Linked DNA regions of Homo sapiens: regions 1 and 3 are each linked to region 2. Evidence: promoter capture Hi-C in 16 types of primary human blood cells and fetal thymus (Javierre and others, 2016). All regions are on one chromosome and are shown on one strand. The core of a region is centred on a gene start or on the middle of the fragment in contact, and the rest is flanking DNA. Distances in the headings are between cores, read along the strand shown. Region 1 overlaps AK8 (adenylate kinase 8). Region 2 holds the start of CFAP77 (cilia and flagella associated protein 77). Region 3 holds the start of AK8 (adenylate kinase 8).

Region 1 (4,303 bases), core at 1,340-3,839, 370 kb before region 2:
GTTTTCCATCTTTTCTTTATGGGATGTGTTTTGAGTTTTGTTCTTGTTATTGTTAGCTTCTTACCTGCCCCACTTCCGTTAATTTAGAAGATAATCTGTTTATAGTTCTAATAGTCTCTTCAACACGACTTGATTAAACCTTATTTCTCAGTTTGTTGATTTTGAAATGCAGCAGAATATCTTGACCCCTTCATATGAAAGATGTCGGTTGGGCGTGGTGGCTCACGCCTGTAATCCCAGCACTTTGGGAGGCCGAGGCAGGTGGATCACGAGGTCCAGAGTTCAAGACCTGCCTGGACAATATGGTGGAACCCTGTCTCTACTAAAAATACAAAAATTAGCCGGGCATGGTGGTGGGCGCCTGTAGTCCCAGCTACTCAGGAGGCTGAGGCAGGGAACTGCTTGAACCCGGGAGGCAGAGGTTGCAGTGAGCCGAGAGCACGCCACTGCATTCCAGCCTGGGCGACAGAGCAAGACTCCATCTAAAAAAAAAAAAAAAAAAAGAGTATCCCACATGTACTGCCTCCTCATCCCCCTTCTCCAGCCATTCTCCATTTTGGGGGAGCCAGGGACAGACATATCCTGAAATTTTTCTGTGCCAGTCTATTATACACAGATTATTGTTTTTAATCAGTATTGATTAAGCTTTTCTTTCTAGAAATATAACAATTATATTCTGTTTTTAACTATAATTACTATACTTACAAAGTTTTTATTCTCTTTAAAACTGGATTAAGATTTCAACACCAGTTGTTTATATATTTCAACCTCTTCATTTATTAATTTTGATTTTATCTTTCATTTGAATGGATTATGTCTTTGATTCATTTTCAGCTAGGGTACATAGATACTAAACTTCCTGAATTTTTGCATACTTGAGAATGTCTTTCTGTTATTTTTACTTGTAAACAACATCTGGCAAAGAATTCTTTGATCATGTTTCTTTCTTTCTCTCCCCAAGCTCCTCCCCCGCCCTCAGTGTTCCAAATCCCTTCTGCACAGCCTCTGACATCTTGCCAGATGTGTTTCTCTTTCCTTCTCTTTCTTTCTTTCTCTCTTCCTTCCTTCCCTCCTTCCTTTTCTTTCTTTCTTTCTTGATGGAGTCTCACTCTGTCATCCAGGCCGGAATGGCGCAATCTCAGCTCCCTGCAACCTTCCCCTCCTGACTTCAAGCGATTCTCCTGCCTCAGCCTCCTGAGTAGCTGGGATTACAGATGTGTGCCACCATGCACAGCTACTTTTTGTATTTTTAGTAGAGACAGGGTTTCACCATGTTGGCCAGGCTGGTCTTGAACTCCTGACCTCAGGTGATCCACCCCCTCAACCTCCCAAAGTGCTGGGATTACAGGCATGAGCCACTGCGCCCGGCCTATGGATGTGTTTCTTTTGCCTGGGTGTTCGGGAGATCTCTCTGTCTCTCTGCCTCTGTCTGTGTCCCCTACCCCCTTCTCTTTCTCTTTAAGTTCATTTACAATCACCAGGCCATAGCTCAGTCTTGGTTCTCCTTATTACTTTTCTCTGGACATTAGGAACCCTTTCACTTACAGTATTTCAGGATGATTTTCTTCCAGTAGATATATTAATATTTTTCTGGTTCATTTGCTTGGTTTTCTTCTTCAGTAAGACCAATTATGTGTGTGTTAGATATTTATCATCAGCTTTTCATAATTCGGATTTTCTGCTGGTGGCTTTTACCTTACTCTTTTTGGTATTATTTTCTCCACTCTGACCTTCATGGTAACTGACTGTTTTCTGCTGTGTTTATTTCTTGCTGTTTTTCATTTGTTTTTTTGTTTCCATAATGCTTTTACTTTTCCCCTTAGGCATTTTTCCTTCATTTTGTGAGCTTTCTTTGCATCTCCTTTTTAAAAATCTCATCATCTTTTCTTTCACTTCCTATATCATGGAGTCCATTCTCTTTAAATTATTTAGAACATTCTGGTAAGGTTTTATCTAAAATGTTCTTATGTTTCCTGGAGTAATTCATTTTCTAACAGGTATTCATTGTCTCTCTCTCTTTTTTTTTTTTTTTAACTTTTATGCCCCTTTCCTTCCATTTTTTGGTAGCACCTATAACTGGGTCCCAAGATGGATATATTCTGTAAATCCTTTACCTTTGAATAGGCTGGTTGTTTGTCTAAGAATAGTGTGAGTTGGCATATTAGTTACCTATATTGCCATCATAAATTACCACTGACTTGGTGGCTTAAAACAACACAAATTTATTGTCTTCAAATTCTGTAGTTCTAAAAATCATGGCACTGCCAGGGCTGCATTCCTTCCTGGAGGCTCTAGGGCAAAATCCGTTTCCTTGCCTCTTCCACCTTCTAGAGGCTTCCACATTCCTTGGCTCACAACCCCTCCCACCATCTTCAGAGGCCGTAGTGCAACTCCCATCCTTCCTCTGTACTCATGTCTCCCTGAGACCAGCGCCGGGAAAGGGTCTCAGATTTTAAGGAGCCATGTGATTAGATTGGGCCTACCCAGATAACCTGAGATAATCTTACCATATCAACACAGTCCTTAACTTAATCCAATCTGCAAAGTTCCTTGTTCCTGGTAAGATAACCTATTCACAGAATCTGGGAATTAAGAGGTGAACATCTTGGAGTTGGGGGCAGGCATTATTCTGCCTTTCCCAAAGTTAGAATCTCCTCAACTCTGAATTATATCCCTAGAGTTTGGGCTACAGAGCTTCCCATTGGAAGACTGAAACCTGTTTAGGCCCAGGGCAGCGGGGATCTGATAGTGTTAACCTGAGCATCCTGTTTTACTGCCGTTATTCCTGTGAAATTCCAGGGACCAAAGTACCCAAAGGCTAAGTGTCCACCCTCTGTTCTTCCTAACATAGTTAATGCCACAGACGTGGTTAATGTCACAGCATCAGTTGCATAGCTTCTGTTTTTGTTTTTTTTTTTGAGACGGAATTTCGCTCTTGTTGCCCAGGCTGGAGTGCAATGGCACGATCTTGGCTCACTACAACCTCCGCCTTCCGGATTCAAGTGATTCTCCTGCCTCAGCCTCCCAAGTAGCTAGGATTACAGGCGCGTGCCACCATGCCCAGCTAATTTTGTATTTTTAGTAGAGACGGGGTTTCACCATGTTGGTCAGGCTGGTGTCAAACTCCTGACCTCAGGTGATCCACCCGCCCTGGGCTCCCAAAGTGTTGGGATTACAGGCGTGAGCCACTGCTCCCAGCCTGCATAGCTTCTTTGTGAGCGCATCAGCTATGTGAAGATGAAACGCACTGGGGAAAATGCAGAACAATCACTTTAAAGAAGGCAGGGGCAGGGTGTCATTAACAGGTCAGGGGAGAGAATCCTGTGCTGGTTTTCTGAAGCCTGGGGGGAAAAATGACTGTTTTACTTACCGAGCCCAAGCACCAGTACTACAGGACCAACACAGGGAGGAAAAGCACACAGGAGGAATATTCAAGAACCGATTTGATTTAGGGCAGGGTTGCAAGGAAACACTCTTCCGTTCACCACGGAGTGAAAATCACGTTCTAAAGACTTAGTAAAGAATGCCAATTTAATTTATTTGACCCTAGGGCGAAGGACAGGCAGGAACAAAAAATCTTGATTTACAATGTAGATTTAATCATATGCTGCTGTTGATCATCCTTTCGTAGTCATTGAAGGTATATTTTCCTTCCTCCTTTCTCATCTCTGTCTCTTCCATCTCCAGCACCTTAGCTTTCAGTTAAACATTTTTATGATTAACTCAGAAAGTAATCTTAGCCGTAAACCTTCAAGTTCAGATACAGGCTAAGAAAGAGAGAAATATTCTAAAATGAATCCACCTAGCACCAGGATGACTATCAGGACTGTAATTCTGGTTCGGTTGTGATGCCAATTATAAAACACTCTAGCTGTGGTGTTGCTGTTTTTGACACCAGGAGGAAATCTTGACAGAATTATAGCCTAGAAATCAATCTGGGAATACGATACAGAAATCTATAATTCAGATATGAAAATCTACAAAGGCTCTTTTTTTAAGGAAGGTTCAATGAAATTAGATTAAAATAAATTTACATATATATCAATTTTATTATTAAAATATATTCACACTAGTAAATAGAGTTATCGGGGAAGGGTAAGCTACTCAGTGTATTGGACACAAAAATAGACCTCTTTGGCTTATCAGAAAACAAAGCTATTGTCTCCTTGTCAAATATAAATCTCTTCTTAGAGCTAATAAATGGGTAGTGTTCAAATGCAATGTTTTGTCTGACTCCTACCTCATAAACCCATGGCACATAATACTAAATTATATTCCACTGAGCAGTATCAATCTCTTGATT
Region 2 (4,011 bases), core at 772-3,271:
GCAGACCTGCTCTGCATCTCGTGCCCTGAAGACAGAACCCCAGTCGTGGGTGAGTCACCTCCTGTACATTTTCCGACCCTAAGCTTGGGTTCAGAAATCAGGGATTGAATTGGTCCTAGAAGCTGTTTAGCTAGTGCCATCCAGAGGCCAAATGTTGTCCTCGATATAGCTGGGTGGGGCGGGGGAAGCAAAAGGAAAAAGGAAAAGAAGGGGGAAATTTACATATATGTACATACATTTTACACATATGTACATGTATATTATACATATGCATACATGTATATATGATAGATGTAAACGGTATGTTATATGGGTGCATACACAAATGCATATGCATGTATGTGTGTGTGTGTGTGTGTGTGTGTGTGTGTACATATTGCTCAGCGTGGGCACCACACACTAACTCACCATGGAGAATAACTCCATACGCCCTCACTTTACACTTCAGTAGGAAGAAGTTGGCTCACTACTAACTACTTGAACAAAAGCAACGACCTAACCTTAATGCAGGTAGTCAGAGGTGGCGGACGTGATTCTCTCCTTCATCCAAGAATAATGGGCCCCACCTGCCTGTCCTGCCTGTCCACTCAGAGTGGCTCTTCTCACGTAGAAGTAAGTGAAGGACCTTGTTCCACTTTGAGAGGCCTAAGAAAGGAGCCTATTCGATGGAAAGGCACGAGTGTGGGAAGCCAGCCTCCCCCAGGTGCAGCCTGCGCCTAGGCAGTATCCTTCCTCCTCTCAGGACCGAGTTTAGGGAAGGCAAGAGGAGGGAGTCAATGTTTTGCCAGGAGCCAATTAACTCAGTTAATTCTAGCACGGGTTCCCTTTTCCCCAAAACAAAAACAAACCGCCACCACCACCTCTGGGCTCTACTCAGCGCCTGGCGGTCACACAAATAATTGTTGTTGAATCCACGGTTACCACCTGCGCCTTCCACTCCCGCACCTGGGACGCGGGGCGCATTTTTAAAGGCGCACTGCCCTCCAGCGGCGCAAGATAAATTCGCCTCGAGGCTTGCTCCCTGACCCCCAAGCCTCAGCCTGACTTCTCCAGTGGCCCCCGGGAAGGTGTGGCCGCCACAGCAGTGTTGGTTTCCCATCAGCGGGAAGCGAGGCTAAAGGTGGGGAGGAGGGAAGTGTAATGGAAGGGAAAGTGATCCAGCCCGAAACCGCAGCTCCCTCATTCTTGTCTGCGGAGCCTCCTAGGCCAAAGATTATGCTTTTTTTCTCTTAGGGTTGTAATTTGGGTAAGAAATTAGTATGATCGAACGGAAATGAACATTCGACGTGATGCTTCCAGGACAGACACGGAGCCACCGCTGCATAGACGTACCCCAGGCGTGCAGCGGAACCGGAGAGGCGGCCTTTACCCTGGGAGGGCTGGCAGCCACGACTTAGACTGGGCGTGTGCGACCTATCTGTCACCCTGTGGGTTCACTCTGTGGGAAACCACAGCAGCACCCATTGCAGCCTTACCCCATGTCAGGCGCTGTCCCGAGGTCCCGCAGAAATTACCCTATTCAATCTTCCCAATCAGTCCCTTTAGTGGTGCCATTATCATCCCACTGTGAGGATGGGGAAACCGAGGCTGAGAGAGGCGACGCGACCTGCATGGGGGTCCAGGCCTGTCTGGACCAGAGCTGGAGCTTCCCACGCTGCGCTCGGACCCCGGGCCGCGGGGCCAGGGCGCTGCGGGTGGGGACCCCCGGCGGCGCAGGTGCCCGGAGCCGGCGACAGCGAAAGCGCGGTGGGCGTGGGGTGCTCACCTTGACGATGAGAGGGTTCTGAAACATGGAGTCCCGCACGACCCCCAGCCGCTCGTTCTCCATGCCGGAACGGATGTCCGCCACGGTCAGGGGCCGCCGCGGGGGCGGGCAGACCTGGCTGACCGTGCGGCGCACAGGCTGCTGCTGCTTCCTCCATCGCGTGAGGTCCGGGCCGGAGCTCCTGGCCTCTGGCATCCTTGAGGTCGCCGGGGAGCCGGCCCGCGGGCTGGTTTGGGCGCGCTTCCCCACGTCGGGCACAGCCTGGAGCTCCGAAGGGCCTGCCGGGCGGCCCGGGCCGCACCACCGGGATCCTGAGGGGGAAACTCAGATGCCAGGACCCCTCCGGAGCCAGGCGCGCCCCGCTCGCGCCGGCCCCTCATCGCAAAGAGCCCCGGAGCAATGCAGGAGCCCCGCGGGATCCTCAGGGCGTCTCCTGGGCCCCGCGTTGCAGACTGGGAGAGGAAAGAAAACCAAGACCACCCCTGGAGGACGAATGCAACGGCCCGTCTCCTTGGCGACGGGACGCCAACAGAGCCCGGCTCGGCTTGTACTTTTCTTTCAAGAAACTCTTGGTGGCTACCAGTGTGGACTTGTTTGGAGTTTTCCTGAATCGATACAGGAGAACCGAGAATCTCCAGTGGGTTGCGTTCAAAGCGGCGTGGCTCATAGAGGGTCATTTACATTTGTCTTCCAAGTCGAAGACTCCATCCTCTGCTCACCCCCATTCCACTCACAACCCCTCCCCACCTCTGCTCTTTGCGCCACACACACACCTGAGACAGAGCACTAAATGCATTCCAAGCCTGATGCTGATGCTGACCCACTGGGAGGACTCGGGCAAGTCACCCTCTTGGATCCTAAGGGCTTTTTTTCTTTTTTTCCTGTGAGATGGGTGACAAGGAAACGCTAGAGTTGGATTACATCAATGGTTCCCAAATTTAAGCAACAGAATGAAGGGAAATTGAAAAATACAGATTTGGGCTGGGCTTGGCTGCTCACCCATGTAATCCCATTGCTTTGGGAAGCCTAGGAGGGAGGATGGCCTGAGCCCAGGAGTTTGAGACCAGCATGGGCAACATGGTGAGGTCTCATCTCTACCAAAAATTAAAAAAATTACCCAGGTGTGCTGGCACACACCTGTGGTCCCAGCTATGGGGGAGGCTGAGGCAGGAGGATCACTTGAGGAGGTTGAGACTACAATGAGCCGTGTTTCGGCAACTACATTCCAGTCTGGATGACAGAATGAGACCATGTGCCAAAAAAAGAAAAACGAAGATTCACAGGACTCACCCCAGACTCACTAAATCAGAATATCTGGAAATGGCATCTGAGGCTCTCCTTTTTTTTTTTTTTTTAAGAGACGGAGTCTTGCTCTGATAATGACATGAGCCACCTCACCAGGCCAGATGCTGCATTTTTAAAAATCCCCTTACCCACCCACCCACAACTTGGTGAAAAAGTTCAAACCTACAGAAAAGTTGAAAGTCGAAAGAAGAATACAATGAAAATACATATAGGCTTCACCTAGATTCGGTTAGATTTTGAAGGGAAGGGGAGGGTTAAAGAAAGAGTGGCGGCTCTACAGCAAATTCAGGCTTTATGTCCAGCATGAGACCTACAGAGGTGGGAGACCAGCTTAATGCCAGTGCCTACCGCTGCTTACAGGCTGGAGAAATTATAGGCCTGGGCGGGGAGGGGCCCGGTGGGTATGGCCTGCTGCCCGGGAAGATGTTGATAAGGTATTCCCATGATGAGGCAGTTTGGCCCTTGTTCTGGTGGAACGTGATGTTCCTGTCACTTTCTCCCAGCAGAATATGATAAGAGGCAGGCTGTTTCTCACTGCCTGAACCCCCGTGGAATGTTTCACTTTAAGCAAGGTCTGCAAAATGGCAGGGGGCTTACAAAATGGTGCAGTTTGGACTAACAGATTCACCCGTCCCCAGCACTGGTCACATTTTCTTGCTCTCTCTCTGTGAGCATGCACATACACACATTACAGAATCACCTGAAAAATATCTGTCAACACCATATTTAACCCTAAGTACGTCATCATGTAGCAAGGACATTCCCATGTGTAACTACAATGTCATTATCATGTCCGAAGATTTTAATGTGATACAATAGTGTTTAATATAAAATCCATTGCAAAGTTGAGACTCTGCATTTGAAAAAAAAAAAAAAAAGCTTCCCAGGTGATTGGTGCAGTTGGAGGAGGATTGGAAACCACTATTGGAGTTTTCCTGAAT
Region 3 (4,104 bases), core at 1,376-3,875, 470 kb before region 2:
GGAGCTTGCAGTGAGCCGAGATGGCGCCACTGCACTCCAGCCTGGGCGACAGAGCAAGACTCCATCTCAAAAAAAAAAAAAAAAAAGATAGCTGCACCTTGCCATACTGAGGCCTGAGGCAAAAGGAGAAATCAGTAACACTGAGCCTACCTTTACTTAAATTTTTGACATGTTATTCTAAATGGATTTTAGGCAGCATTATTTTTGATTTTTAAAATATATTGCATTAAAACGTGAAAAACATCCACCTCAATGATTGAATTGCCGGCACTCCCTTAAGTTTTGTGCTGAGGGTGCATCACTTGCCTTGCCCTAATGTTGGCCCAGGGCTTACAAATGACTCAAAGGTGAAGCTCCAGAAAAGTGAGAGAGAGCACATAGGTGGAGTTCCAGGGAGAAAGGGCGTGTGCCCTTTCGGCCTGGCTTTTCCCTCATCATGGTGGGAGCTGTGGTTGGTAGTGGTTGAGAGGAACTGACTCTGTTCTTGATCCTAGCAACTTGTGACATGCACGCCAGGAATGTCATGAGAGGAGCTGTAATAAGCTATCCGAAGTGATCGTCCCTTGAACGAGAGCCACTGCAGCCAAATTAGTGTGGATGAAGGGCACAGGGGACGGGCACTTCTCGATCTGGGGGAGGAGGGAGGAAAAAAATGATTACCCATAGGTTTTAGGCTTTAATTGATTTGTATTTTTCCAGGCTGCTAAAGAAGATTGAATCATGGTAGGAAAAGCGCCTAGGGCTTAAAATAAATGAGGAGAAAGGCAAGTCATTTCAGAAATGTCCAGGAAGCAAAACAAACCTCTCCAGTGCAAATGGCAGGCATGGCTGTTGTGTTCTTTGCTCAGGGGGAGGCAGCTTCCTTTTCTTCCCCAGCTATCTTTACAGTTGGGTTTGACAAGCCTACCAAGGTGTACACACTTTGAGGAAGCGGTTTGGAGGGGAAGAGGCAACAGTGCTGGCTTTTACGTTGGGAGGGCATGTCTCTGGGCTGATGGCTGGTAGAAAAGGGCTTTAGCTGGAGCCTGGATGCAGAGTTCATGCCCTGGCTCTGCCCAATCTAACCAGTGGCCCTAGCCAAGATTTCCCCCTTTTCTGGGCCTCAGTTTATCCATCTGTCAAATGAGAGAGTTTGGATTAGCCTCTTCTTCAAGAGGCCTTCTGGTTCTAAGGCTGTATGATCAACAACTGATGAGAAAAGAAGCCCAGAAAGGGGAAGTGACTCACCCAAAGTTACCCAGCCAACCACTCCTCATTGTTCTAATCCTCCAACTTCTCATCTGTAAAATGGGAATGAAGGTGCCTATTTCACAGGATTGTTGGAACGATTAAATGAGATACTACTACTAATAGTAGCCCCATATATTGTGTGCTTACTGCATGCCAATTACTCTCCAATACATTAGCTCCTGAAATCCTTCAGCAGTTCCCTCTTCACAGGGCAGGAAAGTGAGGCACGGAGCAAGCAGAGAGTTTGCCAAGCTCACACAGTAAGAAGCGGAGCCAGAACTTGAAGCTGGGGCTGTCTGCATTGACTGTGCCATTTTCCCTCTCCATAAGGTACAGAGACAACAGAATTTTGCCGAGAGCACAAAGAGTTCAACAAACTCTTACAGCTCCTACGATTAACGGCAACAGACAAGAGCTAGAGATCCCAATTCAGTGTTGCGACTAATAAAATATCAAGCTGCCCCGTACCACTGGGAATTCATACGACTTAAAAAGCTCCGTCTCCAGCGCGAACCTTCCCCTCGCCCCCACCCCGAGACAGCTGTGCAGGCCCCTCCATCCTCCGGACCCCTCCATCTTTCCATCCTCCACCCCAGCTTCCAGTTTCTGACCCAGAGGCCGGGGTGGGGTCCGAGTGGGCCCACCCACACTCATCCCTGTTTACCCTTGCTTGTCCTAGAGCGCTCTTCGCTCCACGGAGCACCCAGAGAAGTTGGAGTGACTCCGTGAGTGTCGGTGCCCCGGAGGGTGGGGAGGCCCGTTCCAGGACTTGGGAGGCGAGGGTGGGTGGGGACGTCGGGCGAGAAGGGGCGGGGCCGCGGGCGTGATTGTTACCGCCGGTGCCATAGCAATCGGGTCACTTGGCGGCTTGGCCAGAGCCGGGGAGCTGGGAGGGGTCTACCGGGGCTCGACTCTAGGAGTTGGGCTGAGGATTTCCACCCGATCCTCGAACCTCCGGCCCATCTCATGGACGCCCCTCCCCCTTCAAACACCCTCCCCCACATTTATTCCCGCGTCTGTTTTAAAGATGGGTAAACTGAGGCACAGGGAGCCGGGCCGGGGAGCACTGACAGAACCAGAAGCAGGTTCTGCCTCCCGTCCCCTCGGAGGGCCGACTTGCCCCTTCTGGGTTTCGTCGGGGGTCTCAGATACGAGGAGGCCCAGCTGGAAGCCACCTGAGGGTGTCCCCCGCTAAGATGCGCAAATGGGAAAAGCGAGGCCGGGGTTGGGGAAAGAACTTGCCCGAGCCGCAGAGCGCGTCAGCCGGGGAGGTCGGGGCGGGGGCGACCCGCGCGACCGAGGATCGGGTATCTGGGCCCGGCGCGGAGCCTGCAGGGCGGGGCCGCGGCGCGTGCTGATGACGCAGTCGGCGCGGCGGCCCTAGCGACGCGGTTACTAGGGAGCGGCGAGCCGAGACGGCTACATGGACGCCACTATCGCCCCGCACCGTATCCCCCCCGAGATGCCCCAGTACGGGGAGGAGAACCACATCTTCGAGTTGATGCAGGTGACCGGACACCCCTGCCCGTCGCGACGCTGGCGGCGGCTCGGGAGCCTCCACTGCGACGTCGGGTGCGCGGCCGGGACCCGCAGCTGGGGCCGAGTCGCGCGCCCACGAAGCAGCCCAACTCGGGATGTACGATTCGTGTGTCGCCGTGACCCCGAGGGGGCCCTCGAGCTGGGGACGCTCCTGGTCCTGCCCGGGTTTGCCTCAGGCGGACCCAGGGGGAGGAAGGGGGCCACTCGAGCCGGGATTTGGTCCTGGCTGTGCCGCCAGCGGGCCTTATGGTCTGGAACCAGTCCTTTCCTTTTCTCGGTTTCCCCACCTGTGAAATGCCAGGTTGCAAGAGGTGGTCTCCCAGGGGCTCTCCCGGCGCTGACAATTACCATCTGTCGAATTTGTGGGGAGCCTCTCGGCCCAGGTTTCTGAGGTGGGCATTGTCCGAGTTCAAGCTGGCATCTCCATCCTCAGAGAGGGCCGCCTCTGGGACAGCAGCATCTCCCACCTTGGTCCCTCCTCCTCAGGGCCAGACGTCCCCGGCAGCTCCGAAGCTCTCATTCTGGCTCCAGGCCTGACTGGGCCCCCAGCTCACCGTGTGACTTTGGGCGAGGCCCCGTCCCCGCCAGGGCCCCAGTTTTCCCTTTTGCACGTGGTGGAGGTCAAGGCTTTCAGGAGCTGGAGGGGAAGAACTCTCAGCCACTCAAAGGTTCTGAGAGGCAAGGGGAAGCTGGAGCTCAGTTTTCAGATCATTTGTCTGCTTCCCAGGGTACACCCCATCCCCAGGGGCATGGCATGGAGGGCATAGTGGTGTCTGTGGTCATTTGAGGTTCTGCCCTGCACACTAGACAGCTGAGCCCAGACGAAGAAACCCGTGTCTGCACCTCCATCAAACACATTTCCCTCGGAAAGTGTTAACTGATAGAGGGAGAGCAAGAGATTCCTAAAACTGCTTGAGTGGCCAATCACAAATCAAATAGCTAGCTGGGTTAGAAGTCAGCAGGTCAGGGCAGGATGGGGGATCATCTGGAGCCCTGTTGTCTGCTCTAGAGAACCTGGTGTGTTTTCCACATTGATTGTTGGAGGAATTGCCCAGGAAAGCTTTTATTGATTTTGAAACAGGGTCTTGCACTGCTGCCCAGGCTGGAGTGCAGTGATACAATCATGGCTTACTGCAGCCTTGAACTCCTGGGCTCAAGCAATCCTTCTGCCTTAGTCCCTCCAGAGTAGCCGAGACTACAGGTGCAGGCCACCATACCTGGCTAATGTTTTTTTTTTAATTTTAGTACAGACGAGGTCTTGCTATGTTGCCCGGACTGGTCTTGAACTCCTGGGCTCAAACAGTCCTTCTGCCTCGGCCTCCCAACAAGAAAGCT

What was found. The method cuts DNA at HindIII sites, captures the fragments that hold promoters and counts their contacts. A CHiCAGO score of 5 or more calls a contact.
Region 1: a contact is called between a fragment that was not itself captured here and the fragment with the promoter of CFAP77 in region 2, in 1 of 17 cell types (total CD8 T cells). The highest score is 5.5, in total CD8 T cells.
Region 3: a contact is called between the fragment with the promoter of AK8 here and the fragment with the promoter of CFAP77 in region 2, in 10 of 17 cell types (activated CD4 T cells, endothelial precursors, naive CD8 T cells and 7 more). The highest score is 7.7, in activated CD4 T cells.

Annotation. Positions count from the first base shown.
Region 1 is chr9:132,781,305-132,785,607 of GRCh38, reverse strand. The region is part of intron 11 of AK8 (adenylate kinase 8); the gene reads left to right. Among named protein-coding and RNA genes, the nearest start is that of AK8, 95 kb to the left of the region's middle. The HindIII fragment of the contact is 3,884 bases long and covers 648-4,303 here.
Region 2 is chr9:132,408,221-132,412,231 of GRCh38, reverse strand. It overlaps CFAP77 (cilia and flagella associated protein 77), which reads right to left and starts at 2,021. Exons shown (of 6, transcript NM_001282957.2): 1 at 1,766-2,021. The coding sequence starts at 1,960. It overlaps LOC105376304 (a long non-coding RNA gene), which reads right to left and starts at 1,591. Exons shown (of 3, transcript XR_930405.2): 1 at 501-1,591. RefSeq lists a silencer at 864-913. The HindIII fragment of the contact is 3,866 bases long and covers 86-3,951 here.
Region 3 is chr9:132,876,805-132,880,908 of GRCh38, reverse strand. AK8 (adenylate kinase 8) reads left to right here and starts at 2,625. Exons shown (of 13, transcript NM_152572.3): 1 at 2,625-2,737. The coding sequence starts at 2,654. It overlaps SPACA9 (sperm acrosome associated 9), which reads right to left and starts at 2,011. Exons shown (of 4, transcript NM_001316897.2): 1 at 1,895-2,011. The HindIII fragment of the contact is 5,580 bases long and covers 1-3,831 here.